Regions from separate parts of the Homo sapiens genome. Here region 1 is linked to region 2. Evidence: promoter capture Hi-C in human tissues and cell types (Jung and others, 2019). All regions are on one chromosome and are shown on one strand. Each heading gives the region's core, a stretch centred on a gene start or on the middle of the fragment in contact. The rest is flanking DNA. Distances are from core to core; before and after follow the strand shown.

Evidence for each region. Contacts are between HindIII fragments. The study calls those that stand out against the background at their distance.
Region 1: a fragment that was not itself captured here is called in contact with the fragment with the promoter of C16orf89 in region 2 in 1 of the 25 tissues and cell types used here (dorsolateral prefrontal cortex).

Annotation. Positions count from the first base shown.
Region 1 is chr16:5,503,565-5,509,619 of GRCh38, forward strand. It overlaps a transcript of RBFOX1 not described here. Among named protein-coding and RNA genes, the nearest start is that of LINC01570, 110 kb to the right of the region's middle. The HindIII fragment of the contact is 5,460 bases long and covers 1-4,857 here.
Region 2 is chr16:5,063,233-5,069,385 of GRCh38, forward strand. It overlaps C16orf89 (chromosome 16 open reading frame 89), which reads right to left and starts at 2,724. Exons shown (of 8, transcript NM_001098514.3): 1 at 2,469-2,724. The coding sequence starts at 2,676. The HindIII fragment of the contact is 22,288 bases long and covers 1-6,153 here.

The sequences.
Region 1 (6,055 bases), core at 878-3,377, 440 kb after region 2:
TCCTGAGTAGCTGGGACTATAGGTGTGAGCCACCACACCAGGCTACTTTTTGTTATTGTAGTAGAGATGAGGTTTCCCCATGTTGGTCAGGTTGGTCTTGAACTCCTGACCTGAGGTGATCCATCTGCCTCGGCCTCCCAAAGTGCTGGTATTACAAGCATGAGCCACCATACCTGGCCAAGACAATGGTTTTAAGTATATTCAAAGTTGTGCAACCATCTCCACCATCACTTTTAGAACATGTTCATCCCCTCCCCAAAGAAACTCTCTACTCTTAAGCTATCAAACCCCTATTGTCTGGTCCTCCCAGCCCCTGGCAAACACTCATCTACTTTCTATCTCTACAGATTTGCCTGTTGTGGCCATTTCATATAAATAGCCTCCTTTCTTCTTTGCTGAGGCTCAGCCATGCCCCTCTTCTCATCATGGTGAGGAGAGCTGGCTTACCCTTTGTCTCTGGGGGGCTGGTTTGGGGCCCCTCCAGCCCCTTCCTGGCATCTGGAGCAGCATCTCCAGAGGGCGATGGCTGGGGGCGGAGGGAACTTGCCAACCAGCCTCATTGCTCACAGCACAAGCAGCTTGGCTCAGGATTACTCATTTCAAACTCGATTTGAGGCTCTGCCAAGAGCAGCAGCACCCCTGGAGCATGTCACCTGATTATTCCTACCCCTTCCCTGATCCCTGAGAGCCCAGAGCACAGAGCAGGCCGCCTCCCAGGACCCAACAGCTGCCAACTTTGAGGCAGGGCCTGCCAGGAGCCTGCTGGGCCTCGGACTTGGCTCTGCAACGCTTGCCCAGCCTGGCCCAGGCTCCTGGATAACAAGGAAACCTGGGGCTTTTGTCTTCAGGCCATTGAGAAGCAGTTTCCTGCAGTAGGGCCAATGGCATTGACCTTTCTGACCAAGAGCTGAGGCAGTCACTGTCCACACACGCACGATCATAAAAATGCCTCCATTCACAGATAGGCTCTGCTGACGCCCTCCACGCGCCTGGTGGGTTGGATTGTCTGTTACTTATCATCAAAGGGGAGGGCCCGGTTTGGCTCCCAGCAAGTAAACCAGGCACAAGCACACAAGAGCAGATGTACTGTCTACCATTTGCTGAGCATTTGCTAGACACCAGACACTGCCATAGGCATTAACTTCCATAATCCTCCCTGCAGCTCTGTGGGGAAGGAACCCTCACCAGCCCCACCTTCAGAGGAGGATGCGGAGGCTTGGGAAGACCAAGGGAGTAACTGGCCATGAGCGGTGACGTTGGAGCTGGCATGAGGGCTTGCTGACCCCTGTGGAGAAGGAAGGAGGCCATTCCAGGAAACTTTCAGACTAGGCAGATCTGTAGAGACAGACAGTGAATCCCTAGAGACAGTGAATCAGTGGTTGTCCTAGGGGCTGGGGACGATGGGTTTGGGAGGTGAGAGCTGAAGGGTGCAGGTTTCTTTGAGGAGTGATGAACGTGTTCTAAAGCTGGTCAAGGCGCTGGTTGCATAGCCCTGTGGATATACCAAACACCACTTGAGATGGGCACTTTCAGTGGGGGAATTGTGCAGTGTATGAGTTATAGCTCAGTAAAGCTGTTATTAAAGCAAGCAATGAAAGCTTGACATTGTAGGCTGCATAAACCTCTTGTATGACCCCTTCTTGCCCCCTTCTCCTCTACTTAAAACCTGGAATTTCCACCTCTGTGCTTAACGCAGGGGGCGTTGGGATAACCCTGAACTGTAGGTGGCAGAAACCATTGAACCAAAGCCTGCATTTTCCCTGCTTGGTGCCTGTCGTCTTATTCTGCTTCTATTGCTGCTCCTAGAATCCCAGAGTTTGTTCTATCTCATATTTCAGACTCCAGCTACACATTTTTATAGGGTGGTAGAGAATTGGGGGTGGGTTTAGTGTCTGAGCAACATTTGCAGCCTGAGATTCCAGGGGTGCCCTATGTGGGTGGGCAGAGAGTCCCACCAGAAGCCCTGTCTCCTGCAGCCCCTCTTACCCCTCACAGTGGTCTGGTTTTTGGGAGGAGCTTACATGCAACTACATCAGGCACTGTGCTGAATACTGTCTTCCCTGGGTGAGTGCCTGTGTCTTATCACATACAGAGTATGTCTCTCCTTTCCAGCCTTGAATTGTGTGACAAAAGATACCATCTTACATTGTCCAGGAAGCGGGAGAGGGAAGAGAGACCCATTCTGCCACACTTGTGAAGTCCATGGCTTTTGGAGGGCTGCTTGGGGATACCCCTGGCAGCTGTCTGGTACCTTCTCCCTAGACCGTGGTTTGCGTGTGTGTCTAGAGGGATGAAGCCTCACCCTGCCATGACATTTCTACCAGCAAACAGAGCCCACTCTCACCCTTCCATCCCTGCTCAAAATCTCTCTGCTATAGACTTTTTCTCACCCTCCCCTCCCGCATTGACCCAGATTGTGTGTATATCAGTTAGGGAAGGAGGGAAGATGATGCCTGGATTTCAGGGTATCTCTCAGAGTCCTAGACTCTGAAACCTCACCAGAAATGAGGAGCCCTTCCCTTGCCTTTGAGCCCACACTGCCTCACACACCTCCTCCTGCTGGTCTGCCAAGCTTGCTTTGAAATCATTAATGTGCCTGTCTTCACAGTGTTCCGGGAACTTTCTGAAGGCAGGGTTCCCAGTGTCCTCCCACCTCTCCTACACCAGTACTGAGCACTGTGCCTGCACCAGCAACTTGCTCCAGCCACATTTGCGAGAATAGGATGCTTGGCAGCCTGCAGGCACAGAGACGTAAGTCGCGGATAGCTCCTCACAGGTCGTCCTCTGTCCTTTCTCTCCCTCTCTGTCCTTCTCTGACTCCGTGGACTCTAAACCCCAATCCTTTCTTGGTCTAGTCCCAGCCTTCCAAGTTCAGGTACGTGAACCCAGACCAGAGAAAAACAAACAAATTAGGAATGTCCCCAGTGCAAAATGAATATAAATAAGTACACAAAGGCTTCTGCTCACCCTGCAGCTGCCCACACACTGCTCTGGAGGTGCAGCCAGCCTAGCTCAGCTCCATGGAAGTTAATGATAAATTAAACCTATTAATCACCCCAGGCAGTGGGGCTGGCCTGATCACAGAGAAGGTGGGCTATAGACTGGAGATGACGCCACAGAGAAGGGAGTGAGGTGTGGGTTACGGCTTCCCCAGGGACATCTTGATCTCCAAGACCCCTTCTTTCTTGAAATGTTGAAAGTTTTACCAGTCTGCTCTGTTGGGTACGACCACTGGGTAATTCAGGAGCTTCCACCTTGGGAGTGGGGTCTAAACTCTTCTCCAGCTATAGATCCTTTTAGCATTTTGATACCCTCCATTTGCATTTCCCCCTCCACCCACTCCAATCTGGAGTCCCCCCTACTAGTCTTTCTTCAAGTCTTGACTCAAAAGCCCCGTCTCAGAGACCACCAGATCTCAAAGCCTATTCTGTTCTCTACCTTTTTGTTTTCTTCATAATGGACCCCTGGAGCTTGGCTGCCTGGGTTCAGATCCAGGCTCTGCTGTTGGTTGTGTGCAGGCTCTCTGTGCCTCAATTTCCCTGCCTGTAAAGTGAGGTTGATAAGTAGCTACTTGGGTTGTGGTCAGGATGAAGAAAACAAATTCGGGTGTGTGAATTAGAATGATGCCTGGCACCGAATAAGCAACACCAACCACTGCGGCCACCATGACTGTCATCACTGCTGTTGCTATTATTATACCATTTGCCATGATTGGAGATGGTTTCCTTTATTTGTTGCTGTTGATTTTCTCTCACTGCTCCCCAAGCAGAATGCAAGCTCCATGCGAGGAGGGATTGTCTTGGCTTTGTTCCCCCCAGTTTCTCCATCAGTGGGTGGCACACATAGGTGTTCAGAAAACATGTGGTGCATGAATGGGGGTTGGCGTGGGAATGGGAGAGAGCAGGCAGCTTCCCAGTGGGCTGGAATTGGCAGAGAGCCACGTACTCTGTTTTCTGGGTCTGAAGACAGCATCTGTTGTGGGTTGAATTGTGTCCCCCACCACAAGATATGTTGAAGTCCTAACCCTTCATGCCTGTGAATGTGACCTTATTTGGAAATAGGGTCTTTGCAGTATAATCCAGTTAAGATGAGGTCATACTGGAGTGGGGTGGGTCTTAATCCAGTGACTGGTGTCCTTATAAAAAGATGAACTTTGGAAACAGACACACACAGAGGAAAAAGGCCATGTGAAGACAGAGGCAGAGGTGGGAGAGGTGCAGCCACAAGCCAATGAACCCCAAGGATCGCTGGAACCACCAGAAGCTGGGAAGACGCAAGGAGGGTCTCTTCCTAGAGCCTTCAGAGGGAGTGTGGCCCTGCTGACACCTCCATCTTAGAGTTCTGCCCTCCAGCATGAGAATGCTTATGTGTTGTTTTAGGCCATCTGGTTTGGGGTGATTTGTTATGGCAGCCCTGGGAAGCTCACATGGCATTGACCCATGAGCAAGGTGTCCCATCAGGAGTGGGGAAAAATGTAGAAGGGAAACCCCCATGGACAGTCCCCGGCCCCTCTGACATGCTAGTTTTCTATTGCTATGGAACAATAGTATGCAAACTTGGCAGCCTAATACAACATAGTAAAGTTTCTGTGTGCTGGGGGTCTGGACGTGGTTTAGCTGCATCATCTGCTTCTGAGTCTCACAGACTGCAATGCAGGCATTGGCCAGGGCGAGGGTCTCATCTGAGGCTCGTCTGGGTGGATGCAGTCCTTTGTGTCTGTAAGTCTGAGATCCACTGACATTGCTCAGGGGCCACCCTCAGCTCCTTGCCAACTACCTGCATCTCCCCACTCCAATGCGGCCACTTGTTGCATCCCAGCTAGCAGCAAGGGTGAGAGAGAGACAGAGTCTCCTAGCAAGGTAGATGCTGCAGCCTTCCTGTGGGCATGAATAGAACATGTGGCTGTGTTCTATTCATTAAAAACAAAGTACAGGTCCTGCCCACTCCCGAGGTCGGGTGGGAGATTGCACAGAGTGATTGCACAGAGTGCCACACCCAAGATGGTGGCGGGGACTGCACAGAGCAGTTGCACAGAGTGCCACACCCAAGATGTTGGGGGTGGGGGGACTGCACAGAGCGATTGTACAGAGTGCCACACCCAAGATGGTGGGGAGGACTGCACAGAGCGATTGCACAGAGTGCCATACCCAAGGTGGGGCGGGGGAGATTGCACAGACTGTGACCACCAGAAGGTGGGGATCACAGGGCCAGCTCACAGTATGTCCCTGCAGTCAGGTTGGCAGAAGTCGAGAGCTGACATTGCCTCTGGAATGTGGTGGGACTGTATTCCTCATGGTCAAGTGGACCCGGAGGCTGTTCCTACGGCAACCACCCACCTGGGGGTTCTGCCGCGTCTCTCCAGCATAGGAACCCTCTACGTCTTTGCCCACTCATCTCAAGCAGTGGATGTACTTAAACTCCAGGGTCCTATTGTTAACTGGACTTCCTTCCCTCTCACTTACACCCTTACTCAGTCATGTTGGACACTAGCTGTGTCTCAGGTGCTGGAAATATAACGTGGAGTGAAAACTGGGTCTCAGAGGCACAGTGTGAGATGTAGACATGAAATAGCCGCACACTTCCCGACATGCGATCCCCCACTGGGATTTGTACTTTGATGCCCACATGCAGGGTGGTGCAAGAGCAGGAAGTGTTGGGATATGACTGAGCCCTGGGGAATGAGGAGAGATGAATTGGCAATGATGGAAGAAGGGCAAATCCATGCAGGTGAAATCACAGACAGGGGATGTCCCACAGCTGGCCGGAACCATGGTACTCCCTGTGAATGAGGAGAAGCGGGTGATCTCCCTCCACCACCGACATCTCTTTCACCCATGAACTGTAAATTTCCCAAGGACAGGGGCCTCAGCCATTTCTGTTCACAATTGTGTCTCCAATGACAAGCACTGTGGCTGGCTTGTAGTTGGCAAAGTGAGCAAAGAGAGAAAGGGGAGTGTGGAATGAGATGAAGTGGCTGGCGGCCCAGAGGGTGTAGGTGTTGTTAGAGTCTTTGTCTCTTATTCACAGAGCAGTGAGGGGCCCTTGCAAATTCTCC
Region 2 (6,153 bases), core at 1,474-3,973:
CCTTGTTAGGGAGGATGGGCTAGGTTAAGAAGGATGCTGAGGTAGTCCTCCAGGGCGACCGGCTCTGGCACGCCCCCTCTGCTCAGCCCCCTCCATGGGCAAACCCGCAGGGAAGAAGTAAAGGCTTGGGAGTGCTGACAGGGAGGGGCTCCCTGTGTGTCAGAGTGTCTCCTCCTGTGATTGCACCGGGTCTACAAAGTCCAATAGGACAGGGGTCCCCAACCTCCAGTCCATTACTGGTCTATGGCCTGTTAGGAATGGGGCCGCACAGCAGGAGGTGAGTGGTGGGTGAGCGAGCTAAGCTGCATCTGTAATTTACAGCCACTCCCCATCATTCGCTGTCACTACCGCCTGAGCTCCGCCTGCTGTCAGATCAGTGGCTGCATTCGATTCTCACAGGAGTGTGAACCCTGTTGTGAATTGCACATACGAGGGATCTAGGCTGCACACACCTTATGAGGATCTAATGCCCGATGATCTGAGACCGTCTCCTATCACCCCCAGACGGGATTATCTACTTGCAGGAAAACAGTCTCAGGGCTTCAACTGATTCTACATTGTGGCGAGTTGTATAATTATATATTATAACATAATAACAATAAACAGAAAGTGGGCTGGGCACGGTGGCTCACGCCTGTAATCCCAGCACTTTGCGAGGCCGAGGCAGGTGGATTACTTAAGTCCAGGAGTTCAAGACCAGCATGGCCAACATGGTAAAACCTCATCTCTACCAAAAATACAAAAATTAGCCGGGCGTGGTGGTGGGTACCTGTAGTCCCAGCTATTTGGGAGGCTGAGCAGGAGAATCGCTTGAACCTGGAGGTGGAGGTTGCAGTGAGCTGAGGTGGCACCACTGCACTGCAGCCTGGGCGACAGAGCGAGACTCCGTCTCAAAATAATAATAATATAATAATAATAATAAATAAAAAATAAAGTGCACAATAAATTTAATGCACGTGAATTGTCCTGAAACCCTCCCCTCCACCTCAGTCCATGGAAAAATTGCTTTCCACAAAACCAGTCCCTGGTGTCAAAAAGGTTGGGGACCACTGCAATGGGACGTAGACCCTGCCCACTGGGAGCTCATTGTTTAGAGAGACACAGGTGAGGAAGCCGTTGCTGCTAGTCAAGGATGCTCAATGCTTTGATAGATGGAAACAGTAATGGCTGACAAGTACTGAGCCCCACTGGTAAGATGACATATACACACAATCTCATGAGACACATGTGCATGATCGTGTGATACTCCCATCCACCAGCTGCAGCTGAAGGATGAGGAAACCAAAACTCCACGAGAGCAGTTAACTCAGTGCCATGCAGCCAGTTGGGGGAGATCCAGGATTTGAACCTGGGCAGTCCAGTTCTGAAGCTCTGTTCTAGGCACTGGCACTGCCTTTGCTCCCTTCTGGGCACAGTTCACGGGTGTGGTTGTATTAAGCACTGAATTCCTAGGGAATCTGTTATGGAGCAAGATTATTGAGAGGAGAAGGGGCAGTGGATGTGGGATGTGGCGTGGGTGGAGAAGCCGGGCTCACTGCAGCTGCCAAGGAGTGGGGACCCTGGTCTGAGGCTGTTAGGTGGGGCCGCTTTCCCAGTGAATGCTGCCCAGTCATGATTAAGAGAACCCCCTCCCTTCTTTGCTAAAAGAGGATAATAATAATGGGTGTAACCTCAGGGATGACGGGGAGAGGGCACTGAAGTACCCCATGCAATGCACCTGGGTTGTGCCCACATTGAGCAGATACTTAGTGAACTACAGCTTTTGCTATCACATGCGCCCCAGGAAGCACCCAGCCCTGTGGGAGCCACCTGTGTGCTTGTGTGTGTGTGTGATATGCTTGTGTGCATGCGTGCATGCGTGCTTGTGTGTGTGATGTGCATGTGTGTGTGCGTGCGTGCATGTGTGCTTGTGTGTGTGTGCATGATGTGCGCATGTGTGTGTTTACCTTGGCCTGTCTCCAGCCCCCTTCTTGGGGATCTTATAGCTCTCAAAGCTAAACAAACACTTGACTGTTTTTGCAGAACCTTCAGGAGACTTTGGCTGCAAGTGGAGGAAGTGGGGTGGGAACCCGATCTTGAGGGTCCTCAGTTTTGTCCACAGCCACCTCATTCAAGGGGAGGGGTCTTCCCACAAATATCTGTTAACGGGGCACTCTCCCTGCTCCCCTTGTTCGTGGCGTTGTGAGGAGGGGCTGTCAAATGGATCATTTCATTCTGAGAAAAAGATAATTCCCAAATCCCTTCCCATGTTGCCTTTAAATCTTTCCTACTTCTAAAAAATTGCGTAACAGTTAGCTGGGCCACAGCCGCCAGGAAGATCCAGCCCCTGGCCTCCTCTCTCCTTATAGCCGAGGCAGGCTATACTGGGGCCAGGAGTCTGCCAGGTCCCAGGCGTACAGAGCAGGGCAGGGGACAAAGCTGAGAGCTAGCTTCCCAGTGTCCAGCCAGAGGAATTGGGGCTCACTCACCTTCCAGCACTCGGACCCCCACCATGCCATCCAGGTTGATTTCAGGCAGCCTCTGTTCTAGGAAGACGGTGGCTCTCTCCAGCGCAGACAGGATCAGGTCTGCAATGGTGGCTTTACTTTCAGCAGTGTCCAGCCCAGGCAGTGAGGAGGACCACAGCGGTGGCAGTGCTGTCAGTAAGAGCAGGAGCAGCAGCCCCAGGCTGGCCATGGCCGGCCTCTGCTCACTGCTGGTCACACGCTCAGCACCCTGAGCTCTGGCCAAGCCCAGACTGCCTCTGCACGCCCTCCTCCCACCTCCTTCCCACCTCCCCCTGGCAGACATGAAGACAAGTGGCCCGGCAGGGCTGCCAAGAAGCCTGGGGTGGCCTGGGCAAAGGACTCTGGGAAGGGTGGCTGCAGGGGGATGACGGTTAGGCAGCGGAGGTTAGGCCAGTCCTGGGCGTAGAGCCTGCTGTCCACGGGATGCTGGGGAGAGGGCTGCCCGCCCTGTCCTTCTCAGCCCTGATTCTCCAGGCTCACAGGCTAGATCTTTGATCTAGCAATTGCAATTCAACCCAGAAATCCAAAAGCTCTGAAAGCAAAACGAATTTTTTTTTCTTTGTTTTTTGAAATAGGGTCTCATTCTCTTGCCTAGGCTGGAGTGCAGTGGTTTGATCACAGCTCACTGTAGCCTTGACCTCCTGGGCTCAATAGATCCTCTTGCCTCAGCCTCCTGAATAGCTGGGACAATCGGCATGTGCCACCATGTTGCCTAATTTTTGTAGCTTTTTTTAATAGAGACAGGGTCTCACTATGTTGATCAGGCTGGTCTTGAACCGCTGGCCTCAAGCGAGCCACCTTCTTTGGGCTCCCAAAGTGCTGGGATTACAGGCTGGAGCCACCACACCCAGGCTTTGTTTTAAATAAATTTGAAACAAACTCATTTGAGGGCACGTCTGCCTTGAACTGAGGCAAACTTCCTTAAAGGGGCACCGTCCAATTGAAATAGAATTGGAGCTACAAAGATGAGCCATGTGTGCATTTCGAAATTTCCTAGTAGCCACATCTAAGAAAGCAGCAATAAGCAGGTGAAGTTAATTTTAACGATCTAGTTTATTTGACCCAGTTATTTAAAATATTATAATTACATCTGTAATCAATATAGAAATGATTTGTTTTTATTTTTGTCATACTAAGTCTTTGAAATTGATGAGTAGTTTATGTTCACAACACAATTGTTTTATTTTGTTATTTTATTTTTAAGAGACAGGGTCTCATTCTGTTGCCCAGGCTGGAGTGCAGTGATGTGGTCATAGTTCACTGCAGTCTCGAGCTCCTAGGCTCAAGGGACCCTCGCGCTTTAGCCTCCCAAGGAGCTGGCACTCCAGATGTAAGCCACCATGCCAGGCTAAGCACATTTCAATTCAGACTATCCATATTTCAGGGGCTTGATAGTCACATGTAGCTGGTATACTGGGCAGTGTCTTAGTTTTGTGCTACTACAACAGAATACCTGAGACTGAGTAATTTATAAAGAAAAGAAATTCATTTGGCTCATAGTTCTGGAGGCTGGGAAGTCCAGGTTCAAGGGGTTGCATCTGGTGGGGGTCTTCTTGCTATATCATCCCACGGTGGAGGGCAGAAGGGCACGAGAGCTGGAGAGAGAGAAGAGAAAGAAGCTAAACTCATTCCTTTATCAGGTACACGCTTTTGCAATAACAGCATGAATCCATTCATGAGGGCAGAGGCCTCATGAAAGATTCCATCTCTCAACACTGTTGCATTGAGAATTAAGGTTCCAACATACGAACTTTAGGGCACACATTCAAACCACAGCAGAGAGTGAGGACCTAGCGTCCTTATTGGTTTCATTCAGTGTGAATGCGCATCTGTTTCCTTGCAGAAATGTTAATGTTGGTTTCCTGGGTGCTGTCCCAAACCTTGCTGGGGCTGTTGTATGTATGTGCACCACATTATCTTTCTAAAATCCCAACAATTTTGAATTCAGAAACATACTTGGTCCCAAGGGCTTCAGCAAACAGATTACAGATCTGTAATAATAATCAAAAGAACACCACTAAAGTGTGTATGTGATGCTCCCTATGTGCAGATGCTAGGTTAGGGCTTCTCCACCTTTTAATTTCGTCATTGTTCTTTTTTCTACCCCCGGAGTGTTTTTAGACGTTTTAATCCTGAAAAATCTTTAGTAAGAGGCTTATTGAGATATTATTCACATACCATAAAATTCACCTTTTAAATGTGTACAGTTTCACAGTGGTTTTTAGTATATTCACAAAGTTGTGCAGCCATCACTATCTATCTCCAGAATGTTTTTGCCACCCTGAAAAGAAATCCCATACCCATTTGCAGAAACTCCCTATTCCCTCCTCCCCAGCCCCTACCAACCATGAATCAACTTTCTGTGTCTATGGTTTGACCTACGGTGGATATTTCATATAAATGGAATCATACAATGCGTGGCTTTTTGTGTCTGGCTTCTCTCACTCAGCGTGATGTTTTCAAGGTTCATCTGTGTTGTAGCACATGTCAGTACTTTATTCTTTTTTATGGATGAATAATATCATCTCCCGGGGAAGCCCCTCCTGCTCTGATGATTTAAGAGGATGAGGACTATGGAGATGACAAACCAAAAGTAGACACCTAGGCCGGGCATGGTGGCTCATACCTGTAATCCCAGCACTTTGAGAGGCTGAGGCGGGGAGATCACTTGAGGTCAGGAGTTCAAGACCAACATGGCCAACGTGGTGAAACCCTGTCTTTACTAAAAATACAAAAATTAGCCAGGCGTGGTGGCACGCAACTCTAATCCCAGCTACTTGGGAGGCTGAGGCAAGAGAATCACTTGAACCTGGGAGGCAGAGGTTGCAGTGAGCCGAGATGGGGCCACTGCACTGCAGCCTGGGTAACAGAGTGAGACTCTGTCTCAAAATATAAAATGAAATGAAATGAAATGAAATATAAAATAAAATAAAATAAAATAAAATAAAATAAAATAAAATAAAATGAAAACAAGACACCTGGAGCAGGGCGTGGTGGCTCACACCTGTAATCCCAGCACTTTGGGAGGCTGAGGTGGGCGGATCACTTGAGGTTATGAGTTTGAGACCATCCTGGCCAACATGGTGAAACCCCGACTCCACTAAACATACAAAACTTAGCCAGGCGTGATGGTGCAGGGCTGTAATCCCAGCTACTAGGGAGGCTGAGGCAGGAGAATCACTTGAACCTGGGAGGTGGAGGTTGCAGTGAGCCGAGACGGCACCCCTGCACTCCAGCCTGGACGACAGAGTGAGACTCCATCTCAAAACAAACAAACAAACAAGCAAACAAGGAGACACCTGGGAAACCTCGGGTGGGAGGCTGTGGGAGCTGTGGACAGACCGCATTCTGTTCATCACTCATCCACTGATGAGCCTCTGGATTGTTTCCATGATTTGATTCTTGTGGACAGTACTGATGTTTGTTTACAAGTTTTTGTTCGAAAACCTGTTTTTCATTCTCCTGGGTGTATACGTGGGAATGCCATTGCTGTGTCACGTGATAATTCTATGTTGAACCTAATGAGGGACCATACGACTGTTTTCCACAGTGGCTGGGCCATTTACGTGCCCACTGGCAGAAGATGAGGGTTCCTTATGTACTGCCCCATGAAATTTTATTTTACTTGTTTATTTTTTTGAGACAG